Linked DNA regions of Homo sapiens: all the other regions are linked to region 1. The links are contacts of gene promoters, found by promoter capture Hi-C in blood cells and fetal thymus (Javierre and others, 2016). All regions are on one chromosome and are shown on one strand. Each heading gives the region's core, a stretch centred on a gene start or on the middle of the fragment in contact. The rest is flanking DNA. Distances are from core to core; before and after follow the strand shown.

Evidence for each region. The method cuts DNA at HindIII sites, captures the fragments that hold promoters and counts their contacts. A CHiCAGO score of 5 or more calls a contact.
Region 2: a fragment that was not itself captured here is called in contact with the fragment with the promoter of MCM3 in region 1 in 4 of 17 cell types (total B cells, non-activated CD4 T cells, naive CD8 T cells and 1 more); the score reaches 6.3 in total B cells.
Region 3: a contact is called between a fragment that was not itself captured here and the fragment with the promoter of MCM3 in region 1, in 1 of 17 cell types (fetal thymus). The highest score is 8.9, in fetal thymus.
Region 4: a contact is called between the fragment with the promoter of ELOVL5 here and the fragment with the promoter of MCM3 in region 1, in 3 of 17 cell types (non-activated CD4 T cells, activated CD4 T cells and naive CD8 T cells). The highest score is 6.6, in non-activated CD4 T cells.

The regions. Positions count from the first base shown.
Region 1 is chr6:52,279,732-52,287,576 of GRCh38, reverse strand. MCM3 (minichromosome maintenance complex component 3) reads left to right here and starts at 2,835. Exons shown (of 17, transcript NM_002388.6): 1 at 2,835-2,980; 2 at 4,171-4,283; 3 at 4,716-4,924; 4 at 5,402-5,532. The coding sequence starts at 2,903. RefSeq lists a silencer at 209-278 and enhancers at 2,358-2,557, 2,878-2,957. The HindIII fragment of the contact is 4,216 bases long and covers 2,711-6,926 here.
Region 2 is chr6:53,644,100-53,651,944 of GRCh38, reverse strand. KLHL31 (kelch like family member 31) reads left to right here. Exons shown (of 3, transcript NM_001003760.5): 3 at 1-4,029. The coding sequence ends at 347. Among named protein-coding and RNA genes, the nearest start is that of KLHL31, 18 kb to the left of the region's middle. RefSeq lists enhancers at 1-58, 89-148 and a silencer at 520-814. The HindIII fragment of the contact is 1,807 bases long and covers 2,902-4,708 here.
Region 3 is chr6:53,478,379-53,486,223 of GRCh38, reverse strand. All of the region lies in intron 3 of GCLC-AS1 (GCLC antisense RNA 1), which reads right to left. Among named protein-coding and RNA genes, the nearest start is that of GCLC-AS1, 51 kb to the right of the region's middle. The HindIII fragment of the contact is 811 bases long and covers 943-1,753 here.
Region 4 is chr6:53,344,624-53,352,468 of GRCh38, reverse strand. ELOVL5 (ELOVL fatty acid elongase 5) reads left to right here and starts at 3,519. Exons shown (of 8, transcript NM_021814.5): 1 at 3,519-3,652. RefSeq lists a silencer at 3,679-4,118. The HindIII fragment of the contact is 17,438 bases long and covers 1-7,060 here.

The DNA of each region.
Region 1 (7,845 bases), core at 1,586-4,085:
AACCTAATTTGAAAGGTGAAGAAACTGAGGCACAGAGTGGTTAAGTAAGTTGCCTAGTCGTGCAGGTAATATACAGAGCAGCCAGAAAGAGTAACCAAATCTGCCTGTCTTGGTGCTTGAAACTCTAGATGCTACAGCATCTGAAGATTCTGACTTCACACTGCAGAACTGTGAGGTTAGGGCAAGCCTGTGCCTACAGATTATTCCTTGAGCTGCTGTGACACCTGGAGGCATAGATTTGCTCACCTCCAAGCTTTGGTGGCCTTTGAGTAAATGTCAAAGGACTGCTAATGAATTATGGCACTTTCCTGAGTGCCTAAACAAGTTATTAATTACAGGGTATTATTTGAAATGTTTTGCAACATATAATGTTCATTAGTTTGAACAAAGGTATATATAATTTCTTGTAATAATATTTATTATGGATTTGTATTGTGTCTTTGGGTATTTTTTGGACCCTGAGGACATAGAAAAATGGCAGTATTACATCTATTTTGCAATCTCTTTGCAATCTTGTTTTCTTTCCATTCTCTTCCTGTATACTCTGCTCTCCAGGGAGCCCCCTAGCGTTTAGGCAGCCTTGGAGATGGGCTTGAGTCCATTAAAGTCTAGGGTGGAAAGAAAATTGAAATGGAGGAAAGCAGGAATGTGACCCAAGTATGGAAACTGTAGATACACTACTTTATTAGATTATATGTGCTTTTTAATTTTGAATCAGGATAGAGGAGGACTACGGGCTAAGCTCAGCTGGACTTTTTATGAGATATGTACAAATGCCCCTAATTTTTCTGTAGCAACAACCTGATTGATTTTGGGCAGTTTGCAGGTGTCGGGGATAACAAAGGAAATACATTTCCTCTGCTTAAAGATTTCATGCCCTAATGAAAGAAGGGAGAAACACCAATTAAATAGCGGTGTGTCCTTCACAGCTGAAGATGATTATATTGGGACAAATCAAGTCTTTATCAAAGACCATGGCATGATTAATTCATTAAATAGAATTGTCTTTACATAGTTTCCAAATTTGCCATTAGCTCATGGAATGTTAGAGTAAGACAGATTATCAGAGATATTCTAATTCAGTTTCTTCATCTTATACTGTATATAAGGAAACAAGCCCAGAAAAAAGTGTGAGAATCAAAGATGTGGTTTTCAGATTTCCACTCTTTTGGACTTTCTACTACAAATGACTCGACTTCTTTGCTAGTTTGAACTAAGCTTCCCGGTTCTTTTAGTGTTAATTTCAAATTGTTTCCAGAGCAGAGGATATCTCAGTACTCTGTCCAATAAGTTCATAAAATAAGAGTTATGAGTAAAAAGTCTTAATAAATCAGTAATTACCTCTTGCTATATAACGGCAAACAGTATCTTTATTCTAGAATTTTCTTTTTTTTTTGCCCGTTAATAAACATAAAAGCAAGCAGTCAAATGACAGCCTTTTTGCTTTGGCTAAGGATCGATTTATCTGCCCACTAGGATGGCACAAAACATACAGTAACTATAAACTGAATAATAACTAGAAATACATATACCCACACAAATAGATGGCCTATATATTTTGTTTAGGCAGATTATTCTTAGAATATTTATCAGTACATAGTGAGTCCTGAAGACTTTAAAACATAAGCTAATAGTTGGCTGAAATTTCAGATAAAGAATTATCAAATGTCTGATGTTGGGCAATCCAGTATTTCAGCTTCTTGTTCAGTAAAATTAAAAACACATGCTGGGGCAATGGGCTTGCTCTTTATTGTGCAGAGTGGTTACATGGGTGTAAGCACAGGTAAAAATTCACTGAGCTGTACACTTAAGATTTGTGCATTTTACTGTATATACATTATATCTCAAAATAAAACTAGAAATATAAGAAAAAGCCAACCACGACGGACTGAAAACAAACATACAAATTTGGACGTGCGATGATCTTTTAGTCATTATGGTTTCAGATTTGCTGTTAGTTACTGATTGATATTTAATCAAAGTGACGTGAAACACTTTTTCCCCTCTTGAGCTGATCGTTCAGTAAGCTAAGTTACTTAAAAGGATCTTGTGATCTTTTTATAAGACCAGAAAGCCTTTAATTTACCTGTTATTAAGTAAGATGGAGTAGTAACGGTTTCCAAAATTTGTATAACACACGATGAAGTCTCTAGGGGGCAGGGTAAACACAGATTTTTTTTTTCACTTCATCCTTCTCTGCGGCGATGTCTTTATGGAGTTCGTCAGGCAACGGTATCAGATAGCAAATGGGTTTTTAACTAATCTTTCCCTAAGGTACTGTAGTTCTATATTCTATCCTATAGATTCTCAAAATCCACTTTTACACTAGGATGCCACTGGAGGGCAGTTCTGATTTGGATATATCTTAAAAATGATTTGCTTTTATGTTTTCATCTCCCTGCGTTATAAAGCACCATCCTCTGAATTTGGTCGTTGCATCGGGTCAAAAGTTCTGCAGCTTGAAAAACCCTGCAAAAACATCCGGAAAGGAGGGAGAACACTACAACTCCCAGAACGCAATGCTTTCCCTCTCGCCAGCCTGTCCCCTCCAGCTGCTCAATGACCAGCCTCTGTGAGCCTCCTCTCAGCCCTATTGGTCAGTTTGCTCGTCAGTGAGTGAGGCGGAGGGAGGGGAGGAACAGAGAATCCCGGATGGTACGTTTCCCGCCACCGCGGGGCGCGCAGCGGAAAACCCGAAGAAGAAGAAGCTTTTGATTGGACAGTCGCTAGTCCGACCTCAGAGAACTCAGCCAATCATAATGCTTATATGCTCCCAAGGTCCCCGCCTCTTCCTCGAGGTAACCTTTGGTGGCGGGAAGAGTTCGGAAGTTTTCGCGCCGGGGTGGAGTCATCCTGGGAACCTCCACGCGACTTTGGTGGAGGTAGTTCTTTGGCAGCGGGCATGGCGGGTACCGTGGTGCTGGACGATGTGGAGCTGCGGGAGGCTCAGAGAGATTACCTGGACTTCCTGGACGACGAGGTGAGGGAGGCGCCGGCGCGCGGGCTCTAGCGCTCGGAGCCCCTGCGGACGCGGCCCGGCCGGGAAGCCAGAGGCCCGCCAGACCTCCAGACCGTGTGCCGCAGCGGAGCCTGCCGGGCCCGAGCCTCCAGCCCCAATCTTGTAACTTCTCAACGCCGGACTCGCTAGTTTGTGTTCGATAAGTGAACTCTTAGGAAGCCAGCTTTCTCTTAAGTACAAGCGATGGTCCGGGCGCGCAAAAGGCGACAGGTTCCCATTAAGTGCAAGCAGATTGGCAAAGCCCACCTCGGCCTTTTGCATTTCACTGCTCTCTCTTGATTTGAGGAGACTGTGGGGGAGGGGCTGCCCTAGGGCTATAGTGACCAGCCGCGTTGCAGAGTGCTCAGATTTTAGGGACTGACGTTTTACCTGGAGGAAAAGACTCCATAATTCGGCTGCATTCTTTTTCAATACCAACTAAGATGCAGATAAAAAGTGTTTTGTGTGCAGGCCAAGGGGATTTTATGTGCAACCCAAGACTTAAAGCCATAGAATGTTGAAAAAACCATCTTGAAGGGTTGATGATGTGACCAAATAGCTGAGATTCTCTATTCCTTTAGGTCGGGGTATGAGAACCCTTTCCGTATTATAGAGATGATTGGAAAAAATATTACTTTTTACATAATTCTTAAATGAAAAGCCATTTTAATGTGACTATTAAGAGTCTGTTTTATTTACATTTTTATTGTATATATTTGAAGTGCACATGTTTTGATATACATGGTGAAATGATTACTACAGTGAAACAACATATCCATCTATTCACGTTGTTACCTTTAACATTCACATTGCTAGGTTTAACTTAACATTTTAACAAAGTTTGCACTTACTGTCCATTTAGACTTCTCATGAGCTCATTTTAATTCTCCACTAAAGACAGAAATTACAGCATGCAGAAAAGTTGTCCATGATGATGGGAATAACAGCATGGACCTTGAGGAAGTCATTATAATTCTTATAGTCCCCTCTTAGGGTGTTATTTCGAATCTAAAAACAGTGAATGAAAGGGAGAAATTGATGAGCACATACTTACTGGGGATTCAGCTCTGCTGCAGAGATTGACTTAGCTATCTGGCTATGAGAACTACTTCTGTTTAGAAACATTGTTTTTAAATTTGTGGCTATGGTGATATGTGGTGGCTGTTTTGCAGGAAGACCAGGGAATTTATCAGAGCAAAGTTCGGGAGCTGATCAGTGACAACCAATACCGGCTGATTGTCAATGTGAATGACCTGCGCAGGAAAAACGAGAAGAGGGCTAACCGGTGAGAGGCAAGGGGATATACTGGCTGTCAGTGAGAATGGCTCCCTTCCCTCTTGGCCAGATTGGAACAGCCTCTCAGGAGAGGACTTGTATGAAACAGGATTGATCTACAAGCCCTCGTAGCTCACCTGCACCTATTTTTTTTTTTTTTTTTTTCAAAAAGTGGGTGGTTGGCATTTTCCTCCCAAATGCCCCTCCTTCCAATGTTTAGCTGAATATCATTTTTATATCTTTGATAAGTTGAGGTGAAGTTGGTCCTTAGTTCTGGTATTTTACTGAGTCTTATAGGATGGTGTTTTACTGAGACTTATAGGAGAAAGCAGAAGCTGGATTTTCTCATTGTTTTTAATGATCTAAGAATGTCTGCTGTTTTGAGGATCCATTTTTTTGAGTTCTGCCCAGTCTAATTTTTCTTTCTCTTGCTTATGTACAGGCTTCTGAACAATGCCTTTGAGGAGCTGGTTGCCTTCCAGCGGGCCTTAAAGGATTTTGTGGCCTCCATTGATGCTACCTATGCCAAGCAGTATGAGGAGTTCTACGTAGGACTGGAAGGCAGCTTTGGCTCCAAGCACGTCTCCCCGCGGACTCTTACCTCCTGCTTCCTCAGCTGTGTGGTCTGTGTGGAGGGCATTGTCACTAAATGTAAGTGGGTTAAAGGGGGCCGCTTAGGAAATGAATAGACAGGGAGATGGGGAAAGCAGGAGAGGCAAAGTAGATCTGGGTAGCTTGTGGCTTCAAAGAGGTGGAGCATTGGAATTACGTGGTAAAACTTGGAGGGCTCAGTGTGTACAATGATTGGGGGACCTTGAGTAATCACATGTATTAGTAGAATGATGAATTCTGCTGAGAGCTGGAGGAGTCTTGGTTCCTGGCAATCTCTAATTCCAACCTCTAACTCCACCTATTTATTAGTTGGGATTGGTGGTACTTAAAATTTTACATGGATATGGTGGTGGTCTATATATAAATAAAAAAGTGAATAAAAGGTAATATTGAAATATCGTAACCTAGTCAAAAAAACACAGTATTTGGAGTCATTATAGGCTTGCATATGTTTGGGTTCCACCTGTATCATCGTCTAGTTGGGTGAGTTTATATATGCACATTTTCCATCCCTAGGTTCTCTAGTTCGTCCCAAAGTCGTCCGCAGTGTCCACTACTGTCCTGCTACTAAGAAGACCATAGAGCGACGTTATTCTGATCTCACCACCCTGGTGGCCTTTCCCTCCAGCTCTGTCTATCCTACCAAGGTAAGGGGGATAAATCAGTTGAGCTGTCTTGGAGGTTGGAATCAAAGATACCTGTTTTAAGGCAAGGAATTGTGTAATATCTGAAGTCTTTTTTCTGTAAAGGGTGAAAAATAAGGATTAATCCAAAGGAAAGATTGATTGCAGGCCAGAGTTTAATATGAAAAGCCCACAATTCTTATTTATTTATTTATTTATTTTTAAAGATGAGGTTCTCCTATGTTGCCTAAGTTGGAGTGCAGTGGGTATTTGCAGGTGCAGTCATGGTGCACTAAATTTGCAAACTCCGGGGCTCAAGTGATCCTCCCAAGTAGTTGGGATTGCAGGCATGTGCTACGCCACCTGGCTTCACAATTCTTATTTTTTTTTTTAGAGACGGGATCTGTCTCTCTCAGGCTGGAGTGCAGTGGTGCCATTATAGAACACTGCAGCCTGAAACTCCTGGACTCAACGAATCTTCTCACCTTAGCCTCCTGAGTACCTGGGATTATAGGCATGCACCACCAGGTCCGCTAATTTTTTTTTTCACTTTTTTCTAGAGACAGGGTCTCGCTATGTTGCCCAGGCTGGACTGGAAGTCGTGGCCTCAAGTGATCCTCCTGCTTCCATCTTCCAAAGTATTGAGATTACAGACATGAACCACCATGCCCAGCCACAACTCTTATTATTTTTTTAAGAAAACACTTGTTCATTTTAGAAAATTAAGGAATAGTCAAAAGAAGAAGTCATCTACATAGATGTTTTAACAACGTTATAATTTTAGAATCTGCTTTTTAAAAAGTAGAAAAATAATGCTAGACTGTTATGTAATCTTTACAAATATTTTGTTGCGGGTTTGGGAGCAGGTTGGCATAGGAAAATGCTTTCTTCTTGGTGTTCAGATTGATCTGGATTGAGGACAATGCAAGGTTTTCCTCTGGAGACAAAAGATCATTTATATGGATTACTTGATGTCTGAACTGATTCTATCAAACAATTCCTCTCCTCCCCTCATCAAATTTTAATTGAGAACTACTGTATTCAAAGCACTATTAGGCGCTATGGAGGACAAGGATATAAATAAGACCCAGTCCTCGTCATTAGTCTTCACAGTGGTGGAGAAATGAAACATAAACAAAAACGAATGAATATCTTAGAATTATAACTTAAACATACTTTAGCATCATTTAGTCTACCTCCAGATGAAATGCTGAGATCAGAGAAGTTAAACAATTTGCTTACGGTCCCAGTTAGTGATGGCCTTAAGGACTAGGACCTGTGTCTCTTTAATTCATGCCAGTTGTATTTTCTAAGTCATTCTGTTGTCTTCTTCGGACCTTAAGATCTCCACTTTTTTAGAATTTCCTCTTCAGGAAGTACTTGGGAAGTACTCTTCTGTTGATTACTGTGGCCAAGCTTCTTTACTTGAAAAGTGAAATACATTGGACCAGATCTTCTGGAGGTTGTCTATGGTGATGCTTAAGAGCGTGGGCTTTGGAGTTAACACCTGTATCAAGTCAAGACTCTGCTACTTAACTGTGTGACCTGGGGGAACTTACTTAATCTCTCCTAGTCTCCTGGTTTCCTTGTGCATGACGTGTGAAAATACCTTCTTTACAAAGTTGTTGTGATAATTACATGAGATAATTTTGTGAAGTAATAGCACAGTGCCTGGCACATAGCAAACACTCAATAAGTGACAACTGTGTTTTTAGAAAATTCAAATGTGAAGGAAGTAAAACTTTAATATACGTACAGGAAAGCTCACATAAGTGTATAGCTTGATGAATTTTTACAAGCTGAGTACACCTGTGTAACCAGCTCCAAATGAGGAAATATTAGCACACAGAAGTCCCTCTTGAGGGCTCATGTTACCTAGGGGTAACCACTATCCTGATGTCTAACAGTATGGATTACTTTCAGCTGTTTTTTATTTAAATACTTATGGGCTTTTTATGCTCAACATTGTGTTTATGAGATTTATCCATGTTGTGTATAGGTGTGTTTCATACATTTTTATTGCTGTATAGTATTCATTTATGTGAATATACCGTGTTTAACCATTACACTATTGATGGCATTTTTACACTTTAAAATTTTTGACTACTAGGCATAATGTTGCTATGAGCATTACAATGCATGGCTTTGGGTGAATGTTTCTGTTGGGTATTACCTAGGAGTGGAAAAACTGCTTCAGAATGTAAGCATATATTCAGCTTTAGAGGGGAAGTAAGAATCTTAATTTAGATGTTAATATAACCATAGTCCATTCAGACTATGGGTTGCCCCTTCCATTCGATGGTTGTTACTAAAACAGACAGGAACACAAAAAGCTAG
Region 2 (7,845 bases), core at 2,556-5,055, 1.4 Mb before region 1:
GCAGCCAGCTGGGGCCGCGCGGGGAGCGCGTGGACGTGCTCACCGTGGAGTGCTACAGCCCCGCGACCGGCCAGTGGAGCTACGCGGCGCCGCTGCAGGTGGGAGTGAGCACTGCGGGCGTCTCGGCGCTGCATGGCCGCGCCTACCTGGTGGGGGGCTGGAACGAGGGCGAGAAGAAGTACAAGAAGTGCATCCAGTGCTTCAGCCCCGAGCTCAACGAGTGGACGGAGGACGACGAGCTACCCGAGGCCACTGTCGGCGTGTCCTGCTGCACCCTCTCGATGCCCAACAACGTGACTCGGGAATCCCGGGCCAGTTCGGTATCTTCTGTGCCAGTCAGTATCTGAGCCCAGGTAGATGCAGGGACGCAGGAAGAACACGTTATTTATTCGTAGAGCCACGTGGTTAACCTCTGAGTTCGCGAAAAGGAAAATATTTAACATTTACTACACTGATTGTATTGTAAAATATGTCGAGGCACATGTCCTGATGGCTTTAAATTCCTGGTATGGCATAATCTACCTCTTTTTTTTTTTTTTTTTTTTAGCAAAATACAGGGCAATGGCCAACAAAAGAAACAATTTATTTCAGCGGCCACTGGGTGGCAGACGGAATTCGTTATAGGCACTCTCCCAAGGCGGCATGTTTCCTAAATGTATAGCGGTTACACCCACATTTGAGATTTTTTCCTCTACACGTTAGTACACTTGAGGTTTATGTAAGTGATTTCATGTTCAAAAGTTTATTTTCCTCTCTCTCTTTTTTCTTTAGGAAGTTGAAGATATTCATATAGATTTTATTTATTTAAAAATGGAAATTGTCGATCTCCATAAAGACTTAAGATTTAATTCTGTATTTCAACGCAATTTTCCCCCCATATGTGATTGAGTAAAGGATTTTGAAAGATATCCCATGACAACGTAATAAAGCTTAAAACAAGATCTGACCGAAAAGGAATAGGGATTCCACCCAGGGACCCTAAATTTGATAACCTTTGTGTTAGCGGACATTCCTCTTCCTCCATGCCTCAGGCCCCAGTTTATTTTCTACCATAAAATCATGCTCTCAATGAAGTAATTGATATGAATCATTTAATTTATAGCATAAATTTAAGTCATTTGGTTGTTTCAACTAGAAGGATTTGCATTTTATCCCTTGTCCTCTATTAAAGAAGAATTTCACATACCCTGGGAGCCTTACCCTCACCCTAAAAACTACACCAACCTGGTTAAAGGCAACCTTGGCCCTAATGTACACCCCGCGAAGATCACCAAATAAAACTATGTCCCTAAGGACCATTAGCCTTAAGCTTAGAGAGCTTGAAGTTTACACAACCAATAACAATAATTTTATTTGCCCCAATCTTTTATATGATAAGAATGATAGAAACATTTGGAATTTGTAGATTTGGTAGTAACTGGATGAATGGGTTCTCCTGTTGATAAATGCCATTGTTTCCCATTTAATATGGATCCTCCTGATTTCTTAAGTAAAAATCAAGCACTCATCTCACGTATATAAAAATATATACTCATTCTGTCCTATTTTTATTAATCTCATCTGCTCCAAATGAGCTTTGGATTTATAATCAAAGTGTACCCACTTGATAGCACTTTTCCTATATGTTTGCCAAGTTTTGGGGAAAGGGAATGACTGTAGTAAATGATACATATTTTCCTTTTTTATAATTTATCACTTTATTCTTTGACAGTTTATTTGTTTTGGAGAGGAAGTGGCCTATCAATTATGGGTTATGTGCAATTGGATTTTGAAAAATAAAACAAGCTATTTAGGAATTGAACATGAGATATATGGAAATATAATTTGGTTTTTGTTAATCTCATCCTCTCCACCTTGTGTAGATAGGTTATTGCTAGTTATGATATTTATTTCTAAAATATGTTATTTGAACTGTGAAAAGTGGTTCATATAGTACACTTTGTGGAACAATTTTATATCATTACCCCGATGAAAAGTTCAATCTCTGGATATTTAATGATAACACTCAGGTAAGGGCTACAAACGCTGTAAATTAAGAACAAGATATTATTAATGTAAAAGCGCTGGGCTGTTTCCTTATCCCACACAAAGAATCTTTTACCTTGGTATATGTGGATATGGTATATTACCTTGGTGTATGTATATGTGTGTATACGCACACACTCATACAACTGAGAAGCCTATAGTATATGGTTAATTTTTGGAGAAAAGGGTGTTTTATTGTGGGTTACAGATCATAAGTGAGTGAATAGATGTAATTCCTTGATGCACACCAATAGATGTGTTCCCATTGACATCTTAGAAGTATTGTATGAAGAGGAGGACCTAGGGCTTGAAATGAAATGAGAATCAATCAATTGCAACATTACATGATGGAATAATGAGAAGAGATACTGAAACTAGAGGATTTTTCATCTATCAAAGCTTGATAAATTAGGTTGTGCAAAAACTTGGCAGTGGCTTTCTAGAGATGAAACTGGAGACATGTTAGTGCTGGATAAATCATTTAAAATTACCATTTAATTTATTTTCTACATTGTTTATCTGAAGACTCAGAAAATCCACATATTTGAGCTTACCAGACTCTTGGGTGCATTGCTGTTCTATCTTCTGCTTCAACAGTTAGGAAAATAAAGACCAATATGAATTTGGAATGTCAGAATTTCTGACATAACACATTGGCGAGGAGTATGGAATGTAAGGGTCGGTGAAAGTTTCATATCCTGGAACATCTTGCATTGCCAATTGAAAGACATAAAAGTATGCAGAATCAAAATAATATGTGTCCACTTTCATGTGTAAGTGAAACATATTCTTTACACCAACTATTGAAGCAGTTGCTCCTAGAAACCTAGTTTCTCCAGATTTCCCAAGTGGAAAATATTTAGTATGTTTTAAGCTTACATTCAATTACTCCAGAGTCTTAGGACCCAACCATATACTTCCTTTTATTTTTTATTAAAGAAAATGACTTGTTATTTTTGTAACGGCTGAGTCCTGTGATCAAATAAAAGCATCAGTTCAATATATCAGGGAAATTGCATGTTACCCAGCAACTGAAATAATAAAATTCAAGCTCTCTTTTTCTAAATGGGCCAGAGACCTGATGAGAAAGTCTCCAGGAAGCCAAACTTTAACATACTTTGTCCATTTTTAGTTAGGTTCTTGGTGCCAAGTTGTCATCCCTGATGCATTAGTTGCTTTCAGTGCATTGAATGAATTTTATTTTTACTTCCTATGTTGTAAGAATGGTTTTGAATAGAAGGTCAGTGATGGTACAGATTCGTATAATTTTAAAACATGATTAGATGGTAGTGAAGTGTTATGAGTGAGGAGGTATAATTGATGTCATGAGGAAGTGAGTACTGAATGGTTCTATGATTTAAGGTAAAGCAGCAGTTGTAGTAAGTGTATTTTACAAATACACATGTAAATAGAGGTTTACCTGGAAATATGTACGTTCTAAAAGGTCAATTTTTTAATTTTATTTTTTTGCTGGTTATCCTGGCCAAGTGTCTTCAGAACTCATCCAAGTTACGAGACGAAATAAACTAAAATCACCTCATTAATTTTTTTCCCTTAGTTACAACCAAATGAATTTATGTAATCTCTGAATGAACTACATCCCTATTCCAGCCGCTGATGAATATGTTCTCCAGCACAAGGCAGCATTAAAAGGAAATACTTTTCAGTATTTCTTTTCATGCCAAAAAACCTACAGAATAATTTTCCAAACAGTCCTTTATTCGTAATTATAAGAATTAAACAATCTAAAATATTAAAGATTTACCCTCCAGCACATTCACTGGGTAAAGACCATTTAATTTGCCCTCTCAGGGAATTTGAAATAAATTATTTGTCCTGGATATTCTTTAAAAACTTTTTATTTATTCAGCAAATTTTGGCAAAAAAATTTCTTTCTTTGCTTAAAACATTCTGGTACTATATAAGGAACAACAAACTAAAATGTATGTAGTGTTATTTTGTAATCTCATCACTATCAATAAAGCTGCATTCAATAAGACCTTAGTCAATGACTAAATATGGACAGTTTTGAAATATCCTTTCTCTGATGATTGGGGTGTTTGTTTTTTTCTCTACTTAGTTTTCGTGATGATTCACCTAGACAAAACAACAGCAAATGACAAGTAATTGAAAAAATGTTTCAACAGCTTGAAGACTAGTGAAAGAAAAAGGTATAAAACATCAGTAGAGACTTGCTTTGTAACTCAAAGAAAAGCCCAACTCTGGTCTAGCTCAGCCCCGACTATTTAGAAGTCGTAGGTTAAGTGTGGTTTCTCTTCCTGTTTCCACCCTGACCACAGCCAGCTTGTCACAGGTTCATCATCATTTGCAACAAAACGTTTTAGGAAATAAAATCGCATTGTTGTGTAGACAATCCCTTATAGCCTTTCTCTTCTACCTTACCCCTCCAAATGAGCAAGTAAAATGTAACCAACATAAGATGCTCAACCTTTGATCTAATGTAGTACTTAAATAATAACATTCAGTTGAGGCCATCAAATCTAGGAAATTCTAAATGGCAGCAATGCTTTTCTTAAACTTCTCCAAGCCCTGTAATCATATAAATAGACTAGATAGCCTCAAACACAAAACAACTGGTGCCACAGTCCAAATTTTGAGCAGACCAGCCAGATGCCTCAGAGTTTCTTTGCATTTTCTTTAAACTCCCACATTACTCCAAGCTTCCCTACAGATTTGTACAGCCTCCCACAACAATCTTGGGGATGTCTCCACTCTCAATTACAGTGGGAAACTAGGCAGGATCTTTTTTCGCTAGGCCAGGTATAGACATGATGTATGCCCTCTCCAGGCTTCAGCACTGTGCTGAATTCTGTCTACATCTCTTTGGCCAGAACAGCCATCTGGCCTACTTAGATGAAAGGGAGCTAAGAAAAAGGTCTTCATGTCCAGGAGGAAAAGTAAAGTTTTCATATAGCATTGTCTCTGCACAATGAATGGCTAGTCATCTTCATACCTGGTTACCAAAGGAGCAAAGAGCTTCCCAGTCAAACTGCCTCCCCTCAGCCACACTGCTCTGGCCCTGATCACACCATAACAATGCTCTTCTCTCCCTTTCCTGGGTCACAAGACATGTACTCAGCTCCCCTATTATACCTTGCCTTTTTTCTTCTGAAGAACAAGCCCAGACAACTCTTGTAGCCTTTTCTCAATTCAGTGCCCTTACAGGTCAAGAGCATGTATTAAATGTATTCTGCCAGCCTTGAGTGTTTGCACAAATCTGGTTCCCAACAGCCATCAAATAAACCCATTTAATGTTAAGAATTGCCCTCCTCACCCCTCCCTCCCTGGGTCTCCTTGTTCTTCTCTTTCTGGAATCGTCTTAATTCTTCTTGATCTAACCTCTTCTAAAAGAATGTTGAGTGAAAATGATACATCTGTGACTTAATTCCTGCCACTCTAGCCATACTAGCAGGTTCCCAATACATGACGATTTGGGGAGAAGAGAACACATGTAGAGTCTAAAAGAGGACATACACGCATCTGTTCTTAATCCCCATTAGCAGAAGAGTATTCCTGAAAGGAAGAGGGGGAAGGAAGCTAAATGGTGGTAATCTGTCTCTCAAGTTTTATTCTGCAATATTAATGAAACGTTTCCATTTTTTGCAGAGTTCCAAACTGAAAAATGCTTTATTTCATTACAATTCTGCATATAAGTAGCAAAGAAAATTCTGTATGCCAAAAGAATCCTTTGTTGTTTAACAAATGTTCATTAGACATAATTATTTCCCAGCCTCATGCCCCTGATCATATTCTGTCTTTCTCTGCCCTGCTCTGTGCTCCGTCCCCTAGGGACTACATCATCCAGACTCAGGCTCTTTGGCTGAACATTTTATTCATCCAACGGGAGGTATCAGAAGGAGGTCAGAGGGCAGAAGCAAGTGGTTGGGATATTTTTTTCTGCCCTCTTCAGGCTTCAGCACTGTGCTTCTGGCCTAGGCTGTAACTTTCAACAACTCCAGCCCAGTGGCCTTTCCTCCCTTGTTCAAATCTCGCCATGCTTACGTGCCATCATAGCTTACCATCTCTGGATATTTTCCTGTTGATTTATGTTCTGCCATCTCTTTTAGAATATCATCCTTAAAGGTGAAAATTTTGTCTCGTTCACAGATGTACCTCCGGTGTCTAGAGTCATGCCTGGTGTATAGCAGGAGATCAATTTTTTGTGTGTGAAGTAAATAAGTGAATGAGTGAATGAAACAATAAAACCATCATGACCTACTGCTTGCTGATCTCTATTCCAATATTACTCATTTATTTAATCAGCAAATACTTATTAAGCATCTACTGCATGCAAAACACTTTCCCTTACCCCAGTAATCACTAGAGGGAAGCACATTAAAGTACACAACCATGATAACTAGGACTTTTCCAAACTTGCTGCAAGCCAAAAATTAAATTGTTAAGACACATTACAGGTGGAAGGAGTTATGCAACCAACACTTTCCATTTCTCAAAAAAAAAAAACTCAAAAGATTGATATCTCTATAGCTATGTCCCCATTAAAATTTTTTAAATTGCATGCATCTTCTCTATAATTGCCAATTCTTCAAAAACAGGTTAGGACTAGCTTCATCATTTAGCTAGTAAGCATTTATTCAGTGCTTACTAAGTACACACACACACACACATCATTTAAGTGTGAGTGTGTGCATATATACATATATTCTGCGTGTGTGTGTGTGTGTGTAAAATATATGGTCTTATGCTTGCATTCTGAAATTAAGAGCCATTATGATTACATCACCTTGTCTCATATGAGAGCTAAATAAGTTAATAGGTAAAGTTCATTTCTTTAAATACTTCTCATGGGCAGCCATGTTTTCAGAGACACGGGGAAACCTGAGAAGGTAGAGCCTACACACAGATACCCAGGGGCCTTTTTCTGACTCAAAAATGAGAGATAAACAGGGACTCCTGGAAGCAGAACCCTTGCAGCCCAATCCCTGGTGCCCTTCGGAACCCCAGACCAGTCTCCATTGAAGGTGTTTCATTTCCCTCATGGGTAAAAATACTGAGGACAAGTCACTCAATGCAGAGTCCTTGGAGATGGACAGTGAATCTCTGGGCCTGAGTCTTCCAGAGACACTTGGAGCGCAGTAGTCCATTCTCATGCTGCTAATAAAGACATAACTGGGACTGAGTAGTTTATAAAGGAAAGAGGTTTAATTGACTCACACAGTTCAGCATGGCTGGGGAGGCCTCAGGAAACTTACAACCATGGCTGAAGGGGAAGCAAGTACATCCTTCTTCACATGGCGGCAGCAACAAGAAGTGCTGAGCAAAAGGGGGAAAAGCCCCTTATAAAACCATCAGATCTCGTGAGAACTCACTCACTATCACCAGAACTGCCCCCATCATTCAACTACCTCCCACCGGATCCTTCCCCCGGGGATTATGGGAACTACAATTCAAGATGAGATTTGGGTGAGGACATAACCAAGCCATATCAAGGAGAGTGAGATATTGCATAAAGAAATAAGGGGTGGCAAATTCAGCTGAAAGAAGGACCGGCTCCTGCTTTGGAGGCACTCCACAGAGCCACATTTCTGAAGATGGTGAGGTGTAATGGAGACTGATCCTGGGACAGCTTTGGGAGCCTGCTGGAGATGGCAGGGCCACAAATGGACAAACGGAAAGAGTTACTATTGGAGGGGAGCCTCCCCATGTGGGACTGCTTGTTTTGAACAGGGACAAACTAGCTCCACCGAAAATCCATGAAATGTTAAGGCATTGCCAATTTCCATCATTCCCCCTGAATTCTTAAATTAAAATCCCACTTGATAAATTAGTGCCTTTGAT
Region 3 (7,845 bases), core at 99-2,598, 1.2 Mb before region 1:
GTACCAGATGAAGTCTGTACTCATATAATCATACCAGTGGACATTTATTGCACAAATCTAAATGCTTTCCATGTGGCATCTCAGTCTTTACTAGAACCCCTGCAGTAGGATATTATGATTGCCATTTTGCCAGTAATGAAACTAAAGCATAATCAGGTTAAGCAACTTGCCCATTTTTTTTTTCAATCCAAGACAATCCTGATTTGGCTAATCTTGACTGATATTTTGGTGCTTATATATAAAGAGCTCTGGATTATTTGTCAAAAGTCTTGAGGGGGTGGGCACAGTGGCTCATGCCTGTAATCCCAGCACCTTAGGAGACCAAGGCGGGAGGATCACTTGAAGCCAGAAGTTTCAGACCAGCTTGGGCAATATAGTGAGATTCCTGTCTCTGCCCAAAAAAATAAAAATTAGCTGGGCACAGTGGTGTGTGAGTGTAGTCCCAGCTACTCAGGAGGCTGAGGCGGAAGGATTGTTTGAACCCAGGGCTTCAAGGTTACAGTGAGCTACAAATGTGCCATCGCACTCCAGCCCGGGCAATAGAGTTAGATCCTGTCTCAAAAAAAAAAAAAAAAGAAAAGAAAAGAAAACAAAAGTCTTGGGTTCTAGTCCCACTTTACTGCTGATTAACATTTTAACTTGAAGAGTGATTCAATCACTCGGTTGCCCCACTTGAAAAAAAAAAAAAGCTGGAGTACATATCTAGAATCCTTACCACACGAACATTCTATATTTTTGGTTCTTTGACTCTAAAATGGTCAGCTTAAAAGAGTGTTTTCCATCCCTCTTTTGGCTGTTAGAGCCATCCCTGGTGACTTTACCCCTTTCCCCTGAACCTTTCATATGTTTATTGAGCATCCACTCCAGTTGTGCACTGGTGTTTGTTTTCACGGGGTTACTGGTACCCTCCACCCTCACCCCTCTTTCTCCCTGCAGAAAGCTTTTCTAATACTTTCAGCCGTGGTCAATTTCAGGTGATAGCAATGGTAATCATTTATTGAGTACTTACCAAATGCTAGAGACTGACACAGGCTATGTCATTTTTTCAATACCAAGCCCTGTGAAATGGGTACTATCAGACCATTTTTACACCTGTGGCTTAGAAGACTTAAATGTCTAGTGTAAGGGCGGTTGTAGTGGTAGGCAGAGGCAGGTCTCAAACCCTCGCCTACCTAACTCAGACACACTTGGCAATACTATATATCTCTTTAAGCCTTTCAGAGGATATGTTTTAGGAGGTGGATTGTTCCATTTTATATATATATGAACATGATAGACAGACAGATAGATAGATAAATAGATAGAGATAATTTTAAACGTGCTCACTTTCATTTATGAAAATTTACATTTGATAACTAAAAGAGCCTTGCAATTCCAGCATCTCCCTCATGGTGGCAGTAGAAGACTAAGTCATGTACACGCAGCCTCCAGCACCAACAACTAACCCAGAAGAAACCTCCTTAATAAATCAGCTTTTGGTCAAGATTGGTGTTACGTAAAATGCAAAATTAGGACCCTCGGAAGGGGAAAAAAAGAGTCTCAAGTATCTAGGTTATTGACCCCAGAAACAAAAGAAATTTGACAAACTTGCAAAACAGAGACAACAACTTCCTATGGGGGAAAAAAAAACAAAGCAACTACTTGTTGCTGCCCACCCGTTTAGTAACTGGCCTTGGTAGTCTTCCAGCAGCAAGCACAATAGCCTTGTCCACAGATGCTTTTCCCATTTCCTCGGTCCCCTTGAAACCAAGCTTTTGAGAACAAATAGTTTATTTCTCCTTTCTTAATTTGCTCTGAAGGTTTTTAACACAGCGATAACTGGCATATAGAAATTTCACATATTTTTCTTGATCACTATGGCCTATCAACCCCCGCCTGATGATTAAATGAAGGACGATGTATCCAAGGTTCTTAAAGAACTTGGTTGCAACGAATGAACACAAAAAACACCAGACAATAAACATGTATTGAATTATATCTGGGTACAGTAGACACCATTGGGCAGACTTCAGAATTAGCCCCCGGAAGTTTTGCTTTTGCTTGACTCTTGGTCATAGCTGATTGGACTAGAAGTGAACACCTGACTCAGGAGGAGGAAGTTCATTGGCTGACCAGGAGCCAATTAGGGTCTCTCTCTTGAGAACTCTGACTAAGAGACAGAGATGCAGGTTATTTAGTCCAGTTGCGGGTGTAGCATTAGACAGATATAAAACCCAAGAACTCTTGGTACTGAGGCCTGGTTGTTCAACTTTCCTCGGATTTTAGGGGGTGACCAGGATCCCTCCCAGCAAAGTATCATTTTTGTTTAAGCTTAATTTCAGTGGGTTATGTTACATGCATTCTCCATCAAAGACTCCAAGCCCTGTGCAAAGTGCAGTGAGGGCATACAAAGAATTTATGACATTTCCCTGCTCTCCTGGGTATGGGTAATTTTCCTTGCTGTAGAGAGAACAGGGTCTCTGGAATTCAACCCACCTTTGTGACCCTGTGAATGTTCCTTTTTTTCTCTCTCAGAGATTCAACTTTGTTCTCAGTAACATGGAAATGATAGCATCTGCCTAACAGTCATTTTGAACAGGAAGCGTCCCTCTGGCCGGGTGCCTCGTGCATGGCAGATTATCAGTAAATGTCAGCCTCTGCACTGCTTTGCAAGTAGGTCCTTTGGCCGCTCTCAAATGCAAGTCACACAAAGATTGTGGGAGTTTTTTTTTTTTTTTTTTAAATAGAAAATACATCATTCCTATAGAGAAAAAAATACAGTCACATTTAATAATGGCTGTTTAGACAGGGACAGGTTCTCTCGAGCCTCTGGAGGTGGTGGAAAGTGGAGGTGGGTCACTGATCCCAAGAAATAAGCTACAGGACTGAGGCCAGTTTCTGGAGAGGGGATGGTCACTCCTATATTTAAGCCAATAGTGAAGGTTAAGTAGGAGAGTCCAGAGGGACCCTTGAGCCCACTTGCTTGACAATATTGGTGCAGGACAAGTCTAACCCTCCTAACTGGGCAGCTGCCCCCTCCCAATAGTGGTCTCTCTTATGGAGAAAATTTTTACCCGATCAACTTATTCTCGTGAAGCACAAGGGCCTGATATGAACACCCCTTCTGTAGGCATTTTCAAAGAACTTAGTGAGGGTAACAGAAAGAAAAACCTCTATGCATCGAACTTCAGGCACCATCGGAGAAATGTCTTTTCTTAGATTGGCTTTCAAAGTATCTTTAAATCACCCTATTACAAATGGGGTATTAAATAGCCTGCTCTGCCTAGAGAAAAGGTTCCCAAGATTCCTTGTAGCTGCTGGGAAGTTACTGAAATCCTCAGTGACGTGTTTTGAAAAAGTGTTGACAATACAGCGGAAAGTTGCATCTGGCAGCTAACAAATATTTCTTGAGGGTCCACTCGATGCCAGGGATTGTTGCCCTGAAAATGCAAGGCTACCAAAACAAGCAGTTCAGGCCCTCAAGAACCCTGAATGTTCATGAGTACCCACCAAGTGTCACATAGAGCTTATGTCTCAGATGTTTTTCACAGTCCACCCCCCCAGGATGCATTTCCAAATTCTGTGGAGAGCCTAGAACTGTTTCCTCAAAGCCCTTTAGAGCAGTGAGGCACCAATATCTCTCTTTATTACTCCTTTTTCTTTTCTTTCTTTCTTTTTTTGTTTTTGTTTTTTGTTTTGTTTTGTTTTTTTAGAGATGGAGTCTCACTGTATTGCTTAGGCTAGTCTCAAACTCCTGGGCTTAAGCAATCCTCCCATCTCAGCCTCCTGAGCAACTGGGACTACAGGAGAGCACCACCATGCCCAGCTTTATTACTTCTTTTTAAAAAATAAAACTTTTTTTTAAAAGCAGAGAACGTGCTCATTCATTCTGCAGCTGGATCTTGAATAACTTTTCCACTTTGAGAGTTCTGACCCCAAAAACATTGCTGTCACTTTCCAGGTGTTCTATCCTTCCTTGGACCCCATAGCCTGGCTGCCCAGGTCAGACAAGTATGGAACATTTGTTTGTGAGGACAGAGACAGCCACTGGCAACATACCGAGGTATTACAGAGACTTGCTGTGAAGCAAGGCCAACAAAACATCACTTACACAATCAAATAACAAAGAGGGGCATCTTTTTCAAAATTAAAGGTCTATGTGTAAATAAATTCTTTCTGAAAAATAAACAAGATATGAGATAAGGATCCAGGTTTGCTTTGGTATCACTATGGTTACTAGAATGATGTTCAAGACATTTTCACCATGTTCTCCTCCTTTTGAATGCACGCCACAAGTAAAGCATGCCTGAGTTTGGTCTAGAGAGCCTAGGGTGCATTCTCTTTCATGGATGTAGAAGGGATGCAGTTAGCACATTGCTAGTCTTAAAAACAAACAAAAATCCTAGGGAAGATCCTCTCCTTTACTGGCTCAAAAAAGCCCCTGGTAAGAAAAAGTTGTTATACTATTAATGACATGACTGTTTGGTATTGTAAATATCACTCTCAATCAACCAGTATTAGTGAGCACTTCTGAGCACACTCACCATAAGAAGTCATTTACCCGATGGTTATTGAAACTGTTCCATATGAAATTTTGAATTAGTTGCTCAATGTTCTCATTTTTGCCACAGTGTTTTTCTTGACCTAGAGACATACTCAGTTCTATTCCTCATAAGAACAAACTCTTAACTTTGTTCCTGTAACCTAGACTGAGGACTCAGAACTGACCTCGTTTCACTGCTGCATAATACCATATTTCCTGTTTGACAAAGATCCTACCTTGAGCTTGCAAAGACTCCCTGCTTCTTAAAACTGAAACTGGACCCCTTCCTTACACTTTATACAAAAATTAATTCAAGATAGATTAAAGACTTAAATGTAAGACCTAAAACCATAAAAACCCTGGAAGAAAACCTAGGCAATACCATTCAGGACATAGGCATGGGCAAAGACTTCATGACTAAAACACCAAAAGCAACGGCAACAAAAGCCAAAATTGATAAATGAGATCTAATTAAACTAAAGAGCTTCTGCACAGCAAAAGAAACTATCATCACAGTGAACAGGCAACCTACAGAATGGGAGAAAATTTTTGCAACCTACTCACTTGACAAAGGGCTAGTATCTAGAATCTACAAAGAACTGAAACAAATTTACAAGAAAAAAACCCCATCAAAAAGTGTGCAAAGGATATGAACAGACACTTCTCAAAAGAAGACATTTATGCAGCCAACGAACATATGAAAAAAAGCTCATCATCACTGGTCATTAGAGAAATGCAAATCAAAACCACAATGAGATACCATCTCACGCCAGTTAGAATGGTGATCATTAAAGTCAGGACACCACAGATGCTGGAGAGGATATGGAGAAATAGGACTGCTTTTACACTGTTGGTGGGGGTGTAAATTAGTTCAACCATGTGGAAGACAGTGTGGCGATTCCTCAAGGATCTAGAACGAGAAATACCATTTGACCCAGCGATCCCATTACTGGGTATATACCCCAAGGATTATAAATCATTCTACTATAAAGACACATGCACACATGTTTATTGCGGCACTATTCACAATAGCAAAGACATGGAACAAACCCAAATGCCCATCAACGATAGACTGGATAAAGAAAATGTGGCACATATACACCATGGAATACTATGCAACCATAAAAAGGATGAGTTCATGTCCTTTGCAGGGACATGGATAAAGCTGGAAACCATCATTCTCAGCAAACTAACACAAGAACAGAAAACCAAACACCACATGTTCTCACTCATAAGTGGGAGCTGAACAATGAGAATACATGGACACAGGGAGGGGAACATCACACACTGGGGCCTGTCAGGGGTTGGGCGGACCAGGGGAGGGATAGTATTAGGAGAAATACCTAATGTAGGTGATGGGTTGATGGGTGCAGCAAACTACCATGGCACGTGTATACCTATGTAACAAACCTGCACGTTCTGCACATGTACCCCAGAACTTAAAGTATAGTAAAAAAAGACTCCCTGCTTCTTAGTCATTTTCCCTGATAAACATATAAAATGATTGATCATGAATAGAGAGAAAAAGGCACAAATAAGGACAGGAGGCAGTAGAACATAGAGCTCAAGGAACAAGGTCTCTGGCATCTGATTGCTTGACTTTAACTATGTGACCTTGGGGAAGTTACCTAACCTGCTTATGCCTTAGTTTCTTCGTATGCAAAGTAGGGATGGTAATAATAGCACTTACAGAGTTGTGAGGATAAAAGAACTAGTACAAGTCAAGCATTTAAGATAGTGCTTATAGAATAGTAAGCACTCAATAAATGCTAGCTATTTTTCTAGCTGAGTGCAGTTTTAAAAAATTATCCTTAAAAAAAATTCAAAAGACTACTGTAAACTTTAAGTTGATATAAAACTCATAGCAAAACATCATCAAGAAAATGGAAAGCTAAGCCGGGCACGATGGCTCATGCCTGTAATCCCAGCACTTTGAGAGGTCGAAGCAGGAGGATCACTTGAGGTCAGGAGTTCAAGACCAGCCTGGCCAACGTGGTGAAACCCCGTCTCTACTAAAAATACAAAAATTAGCTGGATGTGGTGGCGAGTGCCTGTAATCCCAGCTACTCAGGAGGCTGAGGCAGAGAATCACTTGAACCCAGGAGGTGGAGGTCACAGTGAGCCGAGATCATGCCACTGCACTCCAGCCCGGGCCACAGAGTGAGATTCGACCCGCCCCCACCCACCCCCAAAAAAAATTAAAATGGAAAGCTGAATAGCTAGCTGGGGAAAATATGTGACACAATATAACAAAAGGTGAATGTCCTTAATATATAAAGAGTTGGTAAACATTGACAATTAAAGATATTAAGACTGCCTAGAAAAGGCAAAGGATATGAAAAAAAATTCACAAAAAAGGGAAAGCTTGAAAAGCCGTCTTGTGTTAATGGATTGGAAAACTTAATACCGTTATGATTGAGTACTACTGAAAGTGATCTACAGATTTAATGCAGACTTAAACGAAATGTGACATATACATTTCACACCAGTCAGAATGGCTGTCATTAAAAAGTCAAAAAACAACAGATGCTGCCAAGGTTGTGGAGAAAAGGGAATTCTTACACACTGCTGATGGGAAAGTAAATTAGTTCAGCCTTGTGGAAGGCAGCTTGGTGATTCTCAAAGAATTTAGAACTACCATTCAACCCAGCAATCCCATTATTGGGTATATACACAAAGGAATAAAAATCATTCTAGGATAAAGACACGTGCGTGTGTATGTTCATTGCAGCACTATTTACAATAGCAAAGACATGGAACCAACCTAAATGCCCATCAATGGTAGGTTGGATGAAGAAAATATGGTACATATACATTATGGAATACCACACAGCCATGGAAAAGAACAAGATCATGTCCTCTGCAGCAACAGGGATGGAGTTGGGGGCCATTATCCTGAGCAAACTAGTGCAGAAACAGAAAACCAAACACCACATCTTCTCACTTATAAGTGGAAGCTAAGCATTGAGTACACAAGGACATAAAGAAGTAAACAACAGACACCAGCACCTACTTGAGGGTGAAGGGTGGGAGGAGGGTGAGGATTGAGAAGCTACCTGCCTATCAGGTACTATGCTTATTACCTAGGTGGCAAAATACTCTGTACACCAAACCCCTGTGACACACAATTTACCTAAGTAACAAACCTGCACGTGTACCCCTGGACTGAAAATAAAGGTTAACAAAATAAAAACAAATAAAGATTTAACAAAACCAAAGGTGGGAAAATGTGGTTGGTATATACATGCAATAAAATATTTAGCCTTTAAAAAAAGGAAATTCTGACACATGCTACAACATAAATGGACCTTGAGGACATGCTA
Region 4 (7,845 bases), core at 2,270-4,769, 1.1 Mb before region 1:
AACCAACAGAGACTGCAGTGTCATCTTTAGCATAAAATAGCTGCTACTTGACCTATATTTTAGTCAACTTTGATATGTCCAGAGGCAAACATTGGCTTATATCTTTTCTGGAAGGATGTGTTTCATTATGTCATGCAAATACGTCCTAATGAAACAAGTTTCACTAATCAGAATTGTATTCTAATGAAAGTTCCAATTGTATTTTTTAATTCAACTGCAGCTGCTATAACAATAAAACAAATTGCCTAGGATGTTAAGTACTTTCCTTTTCAAAAGCAATACTGAAGCAACCTTCTAATACACTTAGAAGTGTGTGGTTTGAGGAGATTTGAGCTCAATGATGAAAACTAAGAGCAAAAGGAAAAATATTACCAGAATTTAAAAACAAATAGAAGGCCAGGCACAGTGGCTCACGCCTGTAATCCCAGCACTTTAGGGGGCCGAGGTGGGTGGATCACCTGAGTTCGGGAGTTCAAGACCAGCCTGGCCAACATGGCGAAACTCCATCTCTACTAAAAATACAAAAAAATTAGCCAGGTGTGGTGGCGGGCGCTCCCAGCTACTTGGGAGGCTGAGGCAGGAGAATTGCTTGAACCTGGGAGGTGGAGGTTGCAATGAGCCAAGATCGTGCCATTGCACCCCAGCCTGAGCAACAAGAGCGAAACTCCATCTCAAAAATAAATAAATAAATAAATAAATAAATACATGAAGGAGAAAGAAGAAAATATTAATAGTTAGCTATTGAATGAAGATAATTCAACAATCATTTCTTGGGGGACTACCATGTGGATGCTATGAACAAACAGGTAATAGTTACAAGGTTTTGTTAACTGTACCTTACATGGGCTCACATTGTTGGATAGGTGGGTTAGAAGGGCAAGGATGGCTTCAGCACAGTTTCCAGAACCCAGCTGGCCAGGAATCTGATTCTGATGCTACCTAAAACAGGTTCCTTGAGCCCTGTTATTTAGTAAGCCTGGCATTGGATCCTAGGTATTCTTTTGATTTATTTGGAAAAAATCCCACAGTTAAGTTGGGGAGTCGTTTCGGCTCCACTGTTTTTCTTACAGCTTTACTCATGAGTGCAATGATGCAGAAATACGAAGTAATTGTTAGGGTGGGAGGAAGTTTCCCCCAGAGATATATGACACATGATAAACATTACATTGTAATATGTAAAATAATACATTTGCATATATATATATGTTCTGAGAACTCTAAGTCTCTGGCTGGAGAACTAATGAGAACATGACCGTACCAACATGTTTGAGAGGAGTTAATAATCTAATAATCCTGGGATGTGACTATCTGACAGAGGATTGGAACTCTGGAGCTGAAAAGTGATGGTGATGGTGAGGGGGAGTAACTGTTCACAGATTCACTCATCTAACACGTATTTATTGAGCCCTTATATGCCAGGGATTGTACTAAGATCTACAGATCAATAAGGAGCAAAATTCAACATGTTTTCCCCTTCAACGGAGTTTACTACCTAAAGCGGTGGTCTTTAAAGTGGGGTACATATACCCCAAGGATTGAGTGAGATGATGCCATCAGAAAGCAACTACAATACAGGGTGGTGATGCTATAATGGAAACCAAGATACACACATCAACAAAGAACTGTGTAAAAACGCAGCCTTTGGGGGATGGGAAAAAACAGCAAAACGTCATACTTAATCATACAATAAGAAAAATCACTTGATATTTAATGCATAGCTTGACAGTTATATAAGCCTGAACTTAAAGATATTTTGGTCAAATGGGCTTAAAACATTTTATTGATAGGTAAGCACAATTCAAACAAGTGCGGCGTAAAACTTAAGACTTTTGGAATCTCAAGTTAAATTAGAAACTTTTAAAACCTGGAAAGGCAAAACTTAGATGGGATGACAGAGATGAACCCTGGCCTTGGACTACTGGCAGAAGCGTGAAGAATGAAGGAGATATCTCAAAAAAATAGTCTATGCCACCAGCATATGCTTTTCTCATGTCCCTTGATGTCCATAGCAGCATTTACCACTCTGCATTGTAGTTGCTTCCTGACTGTATCATTTTCCAGGCCCAAGAAGTCCTTGAAGGTTTCAAATTTTGAATACCTAACATAGTATCTAGCAAATTGAAGTCATTCAGTGTTTGTGGAGCTCAATGGCAACTGACAATCTCGATTCTTTGTATATGTTTAATTTACTTAATTTGTACATGGTTTGTATACTTGCATTCCTATTGCAATGGCCCACTGCCTGGAACACAGCTGGCACGTGATAAGCATTACATTGTAAATATGTAAAAGAATAAATTTGCCGGCCAGGCTCGGTGACTCACGTCTGTAATCCCAGCACTTTGGCAAGCTGAGGCGAGCGGATTACCTGAGGTCAGGAGTTCGAGACCAGCCTGGCCAACATGGCGAAACCTCATCTCTACTAAAAATACAAAAATTAGTCGGGTGTGGTGGCGCGTGCCTGTAATTCCAGCTACTTGGGAGGCTGAGGCAGGAGAATCGCTTGAACCCGGAAGGTGGAGGTTGCAGTGAGCTGAGATCGCGCCACTGCACTCCAGCCTGGGCAACAGAGCGAGACTCTGTCTCAAAAAAGAAAAAAAAAGAAAAAAAAGAATAAATTTGCCTACATTAAATAGCCGACTGTTAGGTGGATGCACATAGAGGAGTAAGAATACAGCAAGAGGGGCACACGAAGAAAGGCTAAATCTCTGGGGTTTGAATGGGGAAACAGTAGGATACAAAGCTAATGAAGGTCTTTAATTATCCAAATATCAGTGAAAAACAGCAAGGATCTTCCGTTTATGCCCTGAACCCCCTTTGTCTTAAGTGCTTAAATATGCTTAGCTGAAAAGACACTGATTCCATCTTTCCTCATTTAACAATCCTTTAGAATAATTTCTAGAGTAGAAATGGAGTTGATAGTGGCTTCCAAAGAAAAATCAGAATCCCTAAGAAAAATACACGGTAAATCCTTTGCAAGGGAGTTATGGTTACAACAGTTTTGAGTCGTTTTGTTCTTGTTCCTTTATCTTGTTCAACTGCAGACCTTCACTCCGGCGGTCTCCGTGGGCATTTAACCCTTTCAGCTTTAACGATGAAGTGGATCCCCTTCAGCATGACATAACTCATAGAGGAGACCGTAACGAGGGTGGGCTTCTGCCACCCAAATGCGGCCACAGACTCCTGCCACGCCTGGCAGTAAAAAAACCAGAGTTCAGGGCATCGACAACTTCACCGGGGCTATTGCGCAGGCTCTGCGTTCCACGCAGGCTTATTAGGAAGAAAGGGGAAAAAAATTTCCCAGAGACACGTGGAACCGAGGGGCCAACCCCGGCCTAGGCTCTCCACCGCATCGGATTCTGGAATTTACGATCACGAAAGTTCTATTGTCCCGCGATTGGCTCCCGGGCCGCATGACATCATAGCGCTTGATTCATCCTTCGGGTCCCGATTGGCTGGCCGCGCCATTGTGACGTCACGGTCAGCCCACGTTCTGATTGTAGATAGCCGGCGCCTTCCTCTTCCCATCGCGCGGGTCCTAGCCACCGGTGTCTCCTTCTACATCCGCCTCTGCGCCGGCTGCCACCCGCGCTCCCTCCGCCGCCGCCGCCTTGCTGCTGCTCAAAGCTGCTGCCGCCCCTTGGGCTAAAAGGTAAAGCCGTCAGCTCCGGGAAACTTCGTCGGGGGCCGCCGCTCGGCCATGACACCCGCGCGAGCGCGCGGCCGGGAAGCGGTCAGAGAGAACTGCCGTTAGGTCTCGGACCTGGTGCCGAGAAAGAGCTGCCGGGGCAACCCGCGCTCCGCCCGCGGCCTCCAGCTCCGCCGGCTCCGGGGTACAGCCCGGCTCCTCGGGCGCGGGGAAAGGGGTGCGGGTGCGGGCGCGGGCGGCTCGCCCCACGCCGAGGCTGAGGCAGGGCGCTCGGGAGCGTTCTCTGTGCTGCGGTCCCACCTGTGCGCGCTGACAGGCGCCGCGGGGCACGACACCGTGCCCACACCAGACGCGGAGGGATGGATCTGTCCGCCTGGGTCCTCCCGCCCTGCGGGCCGGAGCGCGCGGCGGGAGAGCCGGGGGAGCGCTCTCGGAGGGAGCGCGCTTTCTTTGGAGTCGGCGAAACCCGGGTGAGTTCGAAGAGCCTGTGCGAGGGTCTGCGGGCACCGGGCGCCGCTGGGGGGACTCTCCGGCCTTTCCTTTTTGTCCTGTTCTCTCCGCTTCCGTTAACCCTGCGGACCTTCCGTCCGCCCCTCGGAGGGAAGCCTGCTAGCTCGGGACCGCTTCAGTTTTTATTGAAACCAGACAACGGCAGCCCTTGGTACTCAGGGAGGGATGAGGCTGGTGGGAAAGCGAGAGGGCGGGGACTCGGGGGCGACCGGGGCGGCCCTTTCTGGGAGCCTGATCCCTGGAGAGGCGGGAGCGGTTGGCTGCGAGGGAGGCGCGCGGCGGGGGGGCGGTTGTGCTCTGCGCCGGGGGAGCTAGAGTGTGTGTTGTCTTGCGAGTTGTAAGGAAAAGTGCCTTTTTACTGTTTCCACGCCGGTAAGACTCTCCCACCCCACCACCTCGGGTCGACGGAGCAATGCCTAGAGCAAGAGTTGTTCTTGCTGAACTGCGTCTTGCAACCGTTCCGTGTTCTTGCACTTGGCGGTTCCCCCCGCCCCATCCACAATTGTGAATTAAGCTCCTTGATTGCAAATTTGGAGAATGCATTTGGCCAGTTATGCAAAGTGGCGGAGGTGGCGGGGTCGGGGGCGGGGGGTCTCTTTCGGAAGAATCCAGTGCATGGTTTATTAGCTAGACTGAGGAACCGAGAGGTGCTAGATGGGATTTGTGGGGAGCGAGCAGCCTAATTTGTTTTAAATAGCGGGACCCGTGGCAGGAAGTGCTTCATAGAATTGTACGGAAGAGCTGATGTTGCTTGTCAGGTTTTGTAACTCATTCTCCTAACCGCTTGGCAGATAACCTGTTGGTCTGCACTTGTTTTGCTTGCACGTCTCAGCCAAAAGCATTTCGTGCAGAATCTACAGATAGAAACAGGCGGTTTTGCATTAGATGGCCGTGGACAAACATTTTAGCCTTCCATCTGTGATTGGGGACAAGTGGGTTACTTTTCTGGTAGCTCAGACACTGCCTGGGATTCTCCAGGAAAGCTCTGCACTTGAAAGGGAAATGTTACTCATTTTCCTTTTAGATTTTTACCCTAGATTCTAACTTCTTATTGCCAGGAACTTTTTCTGTACTGTTTCTCTTTTTGCATTTTCGTTTCTATTTCTAATTGAAGACAAAGGGGAAATTTTTATTGATAGTTACAGATAGGTAATGTTACAGAATGTAGTACAGAACTTTGCTGAAAAGCGACAGTAGAAGGCTTACTAAAATTTGATGTTTTTCAAGAAAAATATCTTGTAACTTCAGATATTGACCTCACCTCCTTGACTCAATTTCCTTGTCTATACATGGGGATTTTATGTGGCAGGATCATTGTGGATTTCAAGAGATAATGCAAATGAGAGCCCAGCATTGAGTCTGCCAAATGGTGGTTTGAAAATGTTTCCTTCCCATTCCCTGAAATCAACAGCTTCTTCTTGGTTACAGACCTTAATTTTTGGATGTTCTGTTTGCAAGAATCTTTTTTTCCACTACCTCTTCTTTTGCTCCCTGCATAATGGTTGCTTGTCTTCCTGCTTCTAGAGGTGAGCATCCATCCTTGGGTGTCTTATTTCCAGCTTGAATTACACAAATCAAAGCAAAACTGTTTACTTTTCTTGAGGGTAACTTTGGTGCCTAGGTGGGTAGTTAGTGTGAAGAGAGAGTTTTACCTCTTGCTTTCCTGGCTACATTCTTCTCTCCTAAAAGATTTTGTAATTTTTTTTTTTAATTCCTCCTCTTTGCCTACCAGCTCTTCTGTTATCAAAAGGCTAATCCTCTCATTAGTTACCTGTAAATAAGTCTTTCCTTGAATGCTTTCTGTGTCAGGTACTTATTAATACGCACATGTACATAAACGGTTGCTTTCCACACGTAATTCTTATAACACCTCTGTGAGGTTTTATCCCCCAGTTGTTTTTTAAGAATTGAGGAGCACTATGAAGACACATGCACACGTATGTTTATTGCAGCACCATTTACAATAGCAAAGACTTGGAACCAACTCAAATGCCCATCAATGATAGACTGGATAAAGAAAATGTGGCACATATACACCATGGAATACTATGCAGCCATAAAAAAGATGAGTTCGTGTCTTTTGCAGGGACATGGATGAAGCTGGAAACCATCATCCTCAGCAGACTAACACAGGAACAGAAAACCAAACACTGCATATTCTCACTCATAAGTGGGAGTCGAACAGTGAGAACACATGGACACAGGGAGGGAAACATCACACACCCGGGCCTATCGGGTGGTGGGGGGCAAGGGGAGGGAGAGCATTAGGACAAATTCCTAATGCACGCAGGGCTTAAAACCTAGATGATGGGTTGATAGGTGCAGGAAACCAGCATGGCACATGTATACCTATGTAACAAACATGCACGTTCAGCACATGTATCGCATAACTTAAAGTGGAAGAAAAATAAAAAAGAATCTCTAGGATTAAGGCCTAGAGATGACAAGTGACTTGTCCAAATTCCTATAGCTCTGTCTCCTGCAACATCTCTGCTCCTTCATATATCCCTGTGCTGCCAGGATTATTTGCCCAGTGGGCTCTGTGCCATTATGTAACACTGTTACTCCACAACTTAAAAATCTAACCTTGTGTTTAAAGGTTCTTGTTAATCCATCCAAGACTAACAATTTATTGTCTCTTAAATCTGTCTAAAATCTGTTCCCTTCCTTGTAGCCCACACTTGATTCATTTTTTAAATTAATTCATTGACTTCTCAGTTACTGATTTTGGGTGTGAGGGGCTGGATACAAAAATGAATTACAACAGTTCCTGATTCCAGAGGGTTTCCTGATTTAGTATATACTTTAAGCCTGTATACACATACTTAATCTACACCTTGGACCAAAAGAGAGTCAGAAGCAGATTTCTGGGACACTTATATCTTTATATCTGAGAAAGCTTTATGGCAGAGCTATCCATGTTAAGGGCCTAGCATTCCTGAATTGGTCAGGATGCTTTTGGTGCAAGAAACAGAAAACCCAACTGAGACCTACCTGTGCATCTGACCTGAAAAGTCCTGAGGGCAGGACTTTTGCTCCATTTCTCTGAAGTCCCCTCAGATGTCTGTTATGTCCTAGACTGATTTTCCAAGATGACTGACAGCAGCTGCCACCATAATCTCACATGGGGATTCCCTGACTTCCTGCCACCCTCCAAAGAGTCCTTTACCTTAAGGTGATTGACTTAGGCCTTGGTTACTTGAAGCAATAACTGGAACAGTGGACATTTGATAAGCTGGGGGCCCATCCCAGAACCAGGGAAGTGAAGTTAAATCTCCTCAGCTAGCTGCTTCACCTTTAAGAAGGGCCTGCAGAACACAGGAAGTCAGCTACAGCGTCTGTTTTAAGGACCGAATGGATGATTGGATTAAACTAAATTGACTTGAATTAAAATTAGAATTTAGCCTTACATTTTGTAAAGGACTCTTAGTTGATAGGCAGGAATAGGAGGACATGCGTTCTAGGCAAGAGGGAGTTTGGAGAGTAAGCGAGTGTGGAATCATTGGGCAAAAAGCAAATAGCACAATTGGCAGAAGCTGGTTTAGAAGGCAGGAGTGGAAGAAAAGGTGAGAAAGGCAAGTTATTGATGTAATAATAATGGCTAACTCTTACTGAGCTATTGTATGTCAGACCTTGCACTGAGCCCCTCACAAGGACTTATTTCTATTATTAATGGATGCTACAGC